Regions from separate parts of the Homo sapiens genome. Here region 2 is linked to region 1. The links are contacts of gene promoters, found by promoter capture Hi-C in blood cells and fetal thymus (Javierre and others, 2016). All regions are on one chromosome and are shown on one strand. Each heading gives the region's core, a stretch centred on a gene start or on the middle of the fragment in contact. The rest is flanking DNA. Distances are from core to core; before and after follow the strand shown. Region 1 holds the start of STK32A (serine/threonine kinase 32A). Region 2 has its middle 22 kb from the start of PPP2R2B-AS2.

Region 1 (4,414 bases), core at 801-3,300:
CTCCCAAAGTGCTGGGATTACAGGCTTGAGCCACCGTGCCTGGCCGGGAGAACATTAATTTTAAGGATTTGCAGTTGTTAACTGCAGGCAGAGGCTACATTGTCTTTTATTTTGTGCTTAAAACCTGAGTACATGTAGTTTTCACAATGCACCCCAGTCCTGTCATTCTTATATCTTTCTTCACACCTCAGGTTTTTCTCAAGTAGCCTGTCATCCTGCAACATAAGATATACCAAGCACTGACCTTGCAAGTTGTCGAATCAGAAAGAGAAAGAGGAAGGAATATTATCGCAATTTTCCATGTTTCAGAATTTCATTCTGATGTGCACACAATTTTGTTCACCACGGACCAAGTGATTTTTAGTGGGAAGATAATATGCAAACAGGGAACCATTTTTGTGTGTGTCTGTGGAAGGGGGAAGCAGATGGAACCACTGGGTGGTCGTTTAGTATCTTCTTCATTGCACCTAACATACACAATCCAGTTTAAAATTATTTTTCATTTTCTCTCCCATGTGGATAACCAAATTAGATTTTTTTTTTCATATTCAGAAAGAAATCTACCTTTCTCTCGCAGGAAAATGGAGACATGTCCTTTCCATTCTGCTGAAGAGCCCAGTAGAGCTGTAGGACTCTCTTTTACCAACCCCCCAGCCCTTCCTGATCTCCAGGCACTAGGTCTGCAGTGTTACCTAAGCATCATTTTGAGATGTGAAGAGGACAGCTACCATCCATGAAAATGAAAATCCAAAGCATATGAAATGTAAAAGGAGGAGAAATTTGTCTTGCAGGGACACAGGGAGTTTTCAGAGTCTACCCTGACCTGGCCGATTATCAGATTATTAACTGGGAAATAGTTCCCTAATACCAACCTTTCATCTTTGGCCTGTAATTTGGGGGTTGTCAACAGGTAAGCTTCTCTAACCACCAAGCCTCCCTAGATAAAGAGGTGTGGTCTTCTAGGATTGGAAAACATAGGAGGTGATGCAAGAAAGTTGCAACTTTTGATTAAACATTTTAGGTTTCATTGTCACAGAATGTGCATAGACACAACTTATTTTGTTTGCATTTGAAAAACAGAACTTCTTAGTTTAAGAAATATTTTAAAAATAGGGGGCAAAAACATGAAAAATGCCCAAGTTAATAACACTCTCAGTTAACAATTGTTTATATTTGGTCATCTTTATATCATCATTTTTATTTTTAAAGCATTTTAGGGAAATATTATTTCCACCTTAATCCTAAAGTCCAATTGATTTCCCTTTCACACTTTCCAAAGACAGCCACAATCACGGATGTGATAAACATTTTACAGTCCCCCTTCTATGATTTTACAAACATGACAAGTGTCTTAAAATAAGTCACCTAAATGGCATGAGAGAGTGGATATATTTTGCATCTTGCTGTGTCTATCTGCCATCATACTTCTGAAATCTAGGTACAGGCATGCTGATCCCTACAGCTCTGATTTTAGCTTTTTAAGTGCTGCATAGCAGTCCGTTGTGTGAATACACCACATTTTATTTTTTAAGTCCTGGGGGAAAAAGTCCTTGTGGAGATGAAGCAATCATCAAAGGCAGCTAGGTTTTGCTTGTTTAGATGCTGGAGAACAAGCAGAAACACCTCCACTCACTTGTCTCAACCCAGCAAATATTTATTGAAGTCTGTCTGGGTCTGCACATGAGTCAGTGCCAGGCAGGGGAACCTGGATGGAGTGCAAAATAGCTGGAATTGGCCCTAGCCTGCATTTAGTTTTGTGAGTTATCTTGATCAGCAGCCTTTGTCTTCTCTTCTCCTTGCACTTCCTAGCTTCCCAACAGTACCCTTAGTATGCAGGTTTATTGTTATTATTCGTTAAATCTAGACCACCACTCACCTAGTCTCGATTCTTCCTTCATTCCTCCCATGAGGCTCGGAGCGATGCTTTCATCCAGGGAACAGGGACTAAGAGAAGAACTCCAAGAGCAAGGAGCAAGAAAAGGCACCTATCTGCCCGGAAGCGGCGGAGGCTGCGAGCGCCGGGCTGGGCTGGGCTGGGCTGCGCTGGACTGAGCTGGGCTGGGCTGGGGAGGCACCTGCGGCTGCCAAGGGGTCCGAGCGCCGCCCAGCGCACAGCTACCCCGGAGGGGCGGCTCCTTGGCCAGGGAAGGAGGCGGGATCTGCTTGCCAGCGGGCGTCTCCGCTTAGCGCTCTCTCCAGAAACCGCTGGGCAGTCTCCTGGGTGAGCGCCAGACGCCTGGGGTCCGTTTGCCGCCTGCTGAGACTAGACAAGGACCCCGGGAGGGCGACGTTGGGGGAGAGGGCTACGGATGGAGGTCCCGCCGCGCTTGGGCCGGGTCCGGAGCCACCAGGACGCACAGCGGGTACTATTACGCCCCATATCACGGGAACTGCCTCACCCCCCCTGCGATGTGGATCGTAATAGCCGGGGGGGGGGGGGGGGGAGAAGGGGGGTGCTATTACTCTCCATATCGCCGGGGGTGCCTCACCCCCCTGCGATGTGGATCCTAAAAGCCGGGGGGTTGAGGGGGAGAGGGCGGTGCTATTACTCCTCATATCGCGGGGGAAGCCTCACTCCCCTGCGATGTGGATCGTAATAGTCGGGGGGGAAAGGGGGACGCTATTAATCCCCATATGGCAGGAGGGTGCCTCACACCCCAGCGATGTGGCTCGTAGTAGCCAGGGAGGGAGGGGGGGTCCTATTACTCCCCATATGGCGGGGTGTGCCTCACCCTCTTGCTATATGGGAATTAATAGCATTCTCTCCCCTCTTGGACATTAGAAACAATTTCACAGTGTGTGTGTACACAGCCTGCGATATTGAAACTAACAGCATCCTATCCACCTCCGGTTATTAGGAACAATATCACAAAATGGTGTACACTCTTTGCGAGACTTGGAGTTCTATCGTGCTGTGTTTCCCTGAATATTCGTAGAAATGTGACAGCGTGGGTGTACACCCACTACTATATTGGGAGTAACTTCGTACTCCACCCCCTGGAAATTAGGAGAAATATCACGGAAGGGGTGTAAAGCCACTGCGATATTTGAAATAATATCATGCCCTCACCCACTAGTTATTAGGAACAATATCACAGGACGGTGTATACCTTCTACAGTATTGGGAGTAATATCATCATCTCTTTCTTTAGATATTAGGAACAATATCAAAGGGGGTTGCACACCCAGTGTATTATTGGAAGTAATATCATTCTCTCTTCTTCTAGATTTTAGGAATCATATCACAGGCAGGGTGTACCACCCTTATTATATTAAAAGTAATGTTATCTCCTTTCGACCTGGATATTAAGAACAATAAGAAATGCGTTCTGTACATCCTTTGAATATTGGTAGTAATACCATCTTTTCCCTTCCTGGATTTAAGAAACAATATGACTTGTGGGGTGTCCACCCCTTGCAATATTGGGAGTAATATCACCTCTCCCCATGAGGTTATTAGGGACAAAATCACAGGGTGGGTGTACACTTCCTACGTTATTAAGAGTAATATCATCCACTTTCCCCCTTTATATCAGGAACCATATCACAGAAGAGGTGTACACCCCCTGTGATATTGTCAGTAATATCATCTCTTCCCCCCTGGATATTAGGAGCAAAACCACAGGGGGGATGTACACCCACTGCGATATTGAAAGTAATAGCAGCCTCTTTCCCGCTGGATATTAGGAAGTATATCACAGGTGTGTGTGCACCTTCTGCGATATTGGTAGTAATATAAACCTCTACTATGCTGCCTATTAGGAAGAATATACAGTGGGGGGCGGGGGGGTTACAACCCCTGCGACATTGGGCATAATATTATTATTTTTCCCTGTACATTAAAAACTCTATCAAAGGGGTCTGTACACCTTCTGCGATATTGGGATCAATTTTATTCTCTCCCCCACTGAATGTTAGAAACAATATTACAGAAGGGTGTACACTTCCTGCGATATGGCCAGTAATATCATCATCTCCTTCCCTGGATATTAGGAACAATATCACCATTTGTGTACATCCCTTGCGCTGTTGGGAGTAACATTATTCTCTCTTCCCCTTGATATTAGAAATAATATCACAGGCGGAGTGTACACCCCACCCCCTGCGATACTGAAGGTAATATCATTCTTTTTTAACTTAGATATAAGGAACAGTATCACAGGGGGCGTGTACACTTTCTTCGATACTGGGAGTAATACCATCCTCTCAACCCGTAAAGAGCAGGAAAAATATCAAAGAATGTTTGTACACCACTTGCGATATTGGGAGTAACATCATCCTCCCCTCACCTGGGTATCAGAAAAAATATCATGGGGCATGGATGTACACCACCTGCGATACTGGGAGTAATATAATGTTCTATCCCCATGGATATTGAGAACAATATCACAGAGGTGGTGTACATCCTCTGCGT
Region 2 (4,414 bases), core at 584-3,083, 690 kb after region 1:
GTAGATTAATAGTAAGCAAACAAAATCCAACTCTTTCATTTTAAAAATAAGGAAAATGAAGCACGGAAATGTTAAGAATTTTGCTTAACATTAATTTTTTTAGTAAGAGAGACAGTTGTCTAGACCAAAAAAAAAAAAAAAAAACAATGATTGAAAGCCAAATAAATTAGATTTGGCCTCAGAAGACATGTCTATTCACCAGCCACCTGAGTATTACCCACAGAGAAAACTTTTAATTTAGCAGCTGCAAATGGGCAGGCCTCAAGCCACAGGTGTATTTTGCTATTCTACACAGTATACTTTTACAATTTGAGCTAAGCCAGGCGTGGTGGCTCATACCCATTATCAGGCACTTTGGGAGACTGAGGCAAGAGGATTGCTTGAGCCCAGGAGTTAGAGACCAGCCTGGGCAACAAAACAAGATCCTGTATTTACAAAAAATAAATAAATAAATAAATAAATTAGGCGTCGTGGTCCACAACTGTAATCCCAGCTACTCAGGAGGCTGAGGCAGGAGGATCCCATGAGCCCAGAAGGTCAAGGTAAGCCATGATCATGCCACTACACTCCAACCTGGGTGACAGAGCAAGTCCCTATGTAAAAAAATAAATAAATAAAATTTGAGCTAATATCTAAAATTTAGGAAATTCCACATAAAAATCCATGTATTTGGTTTCCCTTGAAAAATTAAAGGGCCCCAGCTTCCCAGCTGACAACAACTGACTCCTCTAAGAGGCAGCTCCCAATCCTCATGTCCTTACCCCCCATCCTGACCCCAACTGACCCCCCAGACCCCCTTCCAACTGTGTGCTCTCCAGTTTGCTACTGTGCCCACCTATTTTCCTGTAAAAGGTAGATTTCTACTCCTGTAAAAAATAAACAGCTAACTGACTACAACCCAAACACCAAGAAGAAGGGAGTCATTTCATTTTACCAAGGGTGCCATAAGGTTGTACCAAGCGTTTATTGGAAGCATTTGGCTTGATGACACCACCCCCCACCCTACTCCACGCCTATATTTTTTATTTAGAGAACTATTTGCTCATGGATCTTTAAAGAATCCAACAGTGTCTTCTGGAAACTCAGGGTTAGGGACAATGATATTTATCATCATGCTTGAAATCGTCTTTCTTGCTGTAAAGAAAGATTCTTATAACTTTATGCTGATCAAAAGTAATAGAACAAAGATAGACCTGTGAGGCGGTGCAAGTTCTTTCACCTTCCCATTTCATTCATTTTTACGACTTTCCTGGCCCCTGGGGACAATTTGCCACTCTGGCCTTAAGATACTTTGTAGATAGATTTGTGCCCCACGGACCTGTTTGCAGCCTGCAGTCCGATCTCCGGTTGAGGTGAGCCCCCACCTGGTCACCTGCAGAACGGCACCCACGAGGGCCAGCTAGTTATTCTGGCACACAGGGCAGTTAGAGCGAGCGCTCCTCTATACAGGACACCACTGCGCTGTGTATTTGAGGTAATTAGTTTGGCTCTAAAATTAGCAGTTAAATAAATGTTAATGAACAGCTGTTCCCAATAAACAGGATAAATTGAAATTAATAATTGCCGTATTCATTTAACAAATGAATTACCCACTTTTTAAATACACCAACATAACACATGTGTGATCTCCTGCCAAGAGGGGCCGGCCTAGGAAAATGTACTTAGTGGCAAAACAGGGTAAGCCAGGAGCCAAGCAGGGCAGATGCCATGCCGCCCACTCTAAAGATACCAACAAAATGTGTGACTGCTTTCTTATTTTTATTCCTGTAAAAGGTTGAAATAAATATCAGATTAACTACAACCCAAACACCAAGAAGAAGGGAGTCATTTCATTTTACCAATGGTGGGGTAAGACTGCATCCAGGGTTTCTTGAAGGCATTTGGCTTGATAACACCACCCCCTACCTCACTCCACCCCTATATTTTTTATGTAGGGAACTATTTGCCCGTGGATCTTTAAAGAACCCGACTCTATCGCATCCCAGGAGTAGAAAATTGCTAGCAACACTGAATTCTAGGGCAGTGAGAAGGACAAGAGCTTTAGAGGGACAATCTAGGCTCAAGTTCTGACTACACTAATTACCTCAGTTTCTTCATCTGCACAATGGGAATTGTGAGCTTTGTGTAAGATCATATAGGTCAAGTAGCTAGCACAATGTTTAGCATTTAATAGTTCTTTATTATAATACATATTATTACTTTTCCTTTACAGTGTAAATGACAATCAGAGTTTAAGGAACAAACTTACAAGTAAACTAAGCCTTTATCTGCCGGAGCCCCACGCATTGATGCCAGGCTCTGTCCTGGGCAGGAACACCAACGTGAACAAGACAAGGGCTCTGCCTAGAGGAGCCCATGTGCTCGTGTCCTGGTGTAGCAGGCATGTGAAACATGGACATAACAAGCAAGAACGTTTAGGCGCGTGCTGTGAAGAGACTAAAAGGGGACAACAGAAGAGTGGCTGGGTGACTTTAGCTGCAATAACAGGAACATTTGAGGGACCACCACTCTGAGGGAAAAGTTAAGCCAGCACCTGCATGTGACTGGAAGGCTGCCATGAAGTCTCCAGGAAGAACATTCTGGAGAAAGAGCAAATGCAAAGACTCTAAAGTGGGAAAAAGTACCAGCATATTCCAGCGAGAGGGTGAGCGTCATTAGAACTTAGGGACATAGCCAGGCTCAGTGGCTCATGCCTGTAATCCCAGCACTTTGGGAGGCCAAGGCAAATGGATCACCTGAGGTCAGGAGTTCGAGACCAGCCTGGTCAACATGGTAAAACCCCGTCTCTACTAAAAATACAAAAATTAGCCAGGCATGGTGGCAGGTGCCTGTAATCCCAGCTACTCAGAGGCTGAGTCAGGACAATCACTTGAACCCAAAGAGATGGAGGTTGCAGTGAGCTGAGATTGCATCATTGCACTCCAGCCTGGGCAACAAGAGTGAGAGGCCATCTAAAAAAAAAAAAAAAATAAGAACTTAGGGACATTAGTTTCTGAAGATCACTCTGGCTGTCAAGTAGAACAAAAGTGAAAGGAGGGAGCTGAGTTAGAAGGCTTTTGCAGATGGTGGCTTCCCCATAAATTGACCCAACCTACTTCATTCCATGCAAGAGGATCCTTTCACCCCAGGAATTCCCATTACACATAGTTTTCATTACAACATGGAAGGTCATTATTGGTAGAAGATGTTACAGCCAGTACAGAGCGAGTCATGCACACTCTCTCACCAGAGAGGAGTTAGACCTGGAAGGCAATCACTGGGCCACGCTAAGATCTTCACCTCCTTTGTTTGTCCCTTTGTCCCCCTCCCTATTCTCAGCATACACACAGCTAGTCATTAGCATTCTTTGCATGTGGAGAGACTCAGTAATGGTTTGTGTGTCTCACATTGAAATACTATAGGCAGATACAGTATTTCAGAGTGGTAAAGAGACCTTGGTTAGCTGCGTCTGAATCCCAGCTCTACCATTTTCTGCCTGTGCAACCTGGACAATTTACTTAACCTCTCTCATGTGTCAGTTTCTGTCTCTGGGAATGGGGAAAATAGCACATAGTTATTAAGGAGATCAATAATAACAATGGAAAGAGCATAGCATGTAAGGGTGTTGGCCTACAGTAAGCCCTCAGTAAATATCAGTGCTTAGTCATAGGCCCGCAGCACACAGTTCTCTCTGATGGACACAAATCCTGTTCCAGTGATAATCAAGCTGTGACTGTAAAATAGACTGTTACATTTAAATTAGAAGCAAAGTTAATGATAAAGTTAATTCATAGACAGGATGTTTGAAGTTTTACGTTAAAAATGAACTTATGGGTCCGGTGGCAAACTCTTATGTCTCAGCAGGCGTTTCTTTGGAGCCAGTATAAAGTGTTTAAAACTTCATAGTAATGTAATATTAAGTACAGGCAAAGTTAGTAAGACAGACCTGTCATACACTGATGGGGAGAGAGCGGGTGTAAAACGCTATAGCCAGTTGAGAGGCTTTTTTTTTTTTTTCTTTTAAGGAGTCTCTGTCACCCAGGCTGGAGTGCAGTGGTGCAATCTTGGCTCACTGCAACCTCCGCCACCTGGGTTCAAGCAACTCTCCTGTCTCAGCCTCCCAAGTAGCTGGGACTACAGGTGCACGCCACTATGCCCGACTAATTTTTGTATTTTTAGTAGAGATGGGATTTCACCATATTGGTCAGGCTGGTCTCGAACTCCTGACCTCAGGTGATCTACCCGCCTCAGCCTCCGAAAGTGCTGGGATTACAGGCGTGAGCCACCTCACCCAGCCAAGAGGCATTTTTAATACATCTTTTAAACGTGCATCAACTTCAATCCACCAATTTCACTTCTTTTTTTTTTTTTTTTTTTTTCTGACACAGAGCCTCTCTCTGTCACCCAGGCTGGAGTGCAGTGGCATGATCTCAGC

What was found. Contacts are between HindIII fragments. The CHiCAGO score rates a contact against its expected background, and 5 or more counts as called.
Region 2: a contact is called between a fragment that was not itself captured here and the fragment with the promoter of STK32A in region 1, in 5 of 17 cell types (naive CD8 T cells, M2 macrophages, total CD4 T cells and 2 more). The highest score is 7.5, in naive CD8 T cells.

What each region holds. Positions count from the first base shown.
Region 1 is chr5:147,232,662-147,237,075 of GRCh38, reverse strand. It overlaps STK32A (serine/threonine kinase 32A), which reads right to left and starts at 2,050. Exons shown (of 13, transcript NM_001112724.2): 1 at 1,877-2,050. STK32A-AS1 (STK32A antisense RNA 1) reads left to right here and starts at 2,217. Exons shown (of 4, transcript NR_147190.1): 1 at 2,217-2,363. The HindIII fragment of the contact is 14,744 bases long and covers 918-4,414 here.
Region 2 is chr5:146,539,388-146,543,801 of GRCh38, reverse strand. No RefSeq gene overlaps it. Among named protein-coding and RNA genes, the nearest start is that of PPP2R2B-AS2, 22 kb to the left of the region's middle. RefSeq lists an enhancer at 2,671-3,171. The HindIII fragment of the contact is 7,338 bases long and covers 1-4,414 here.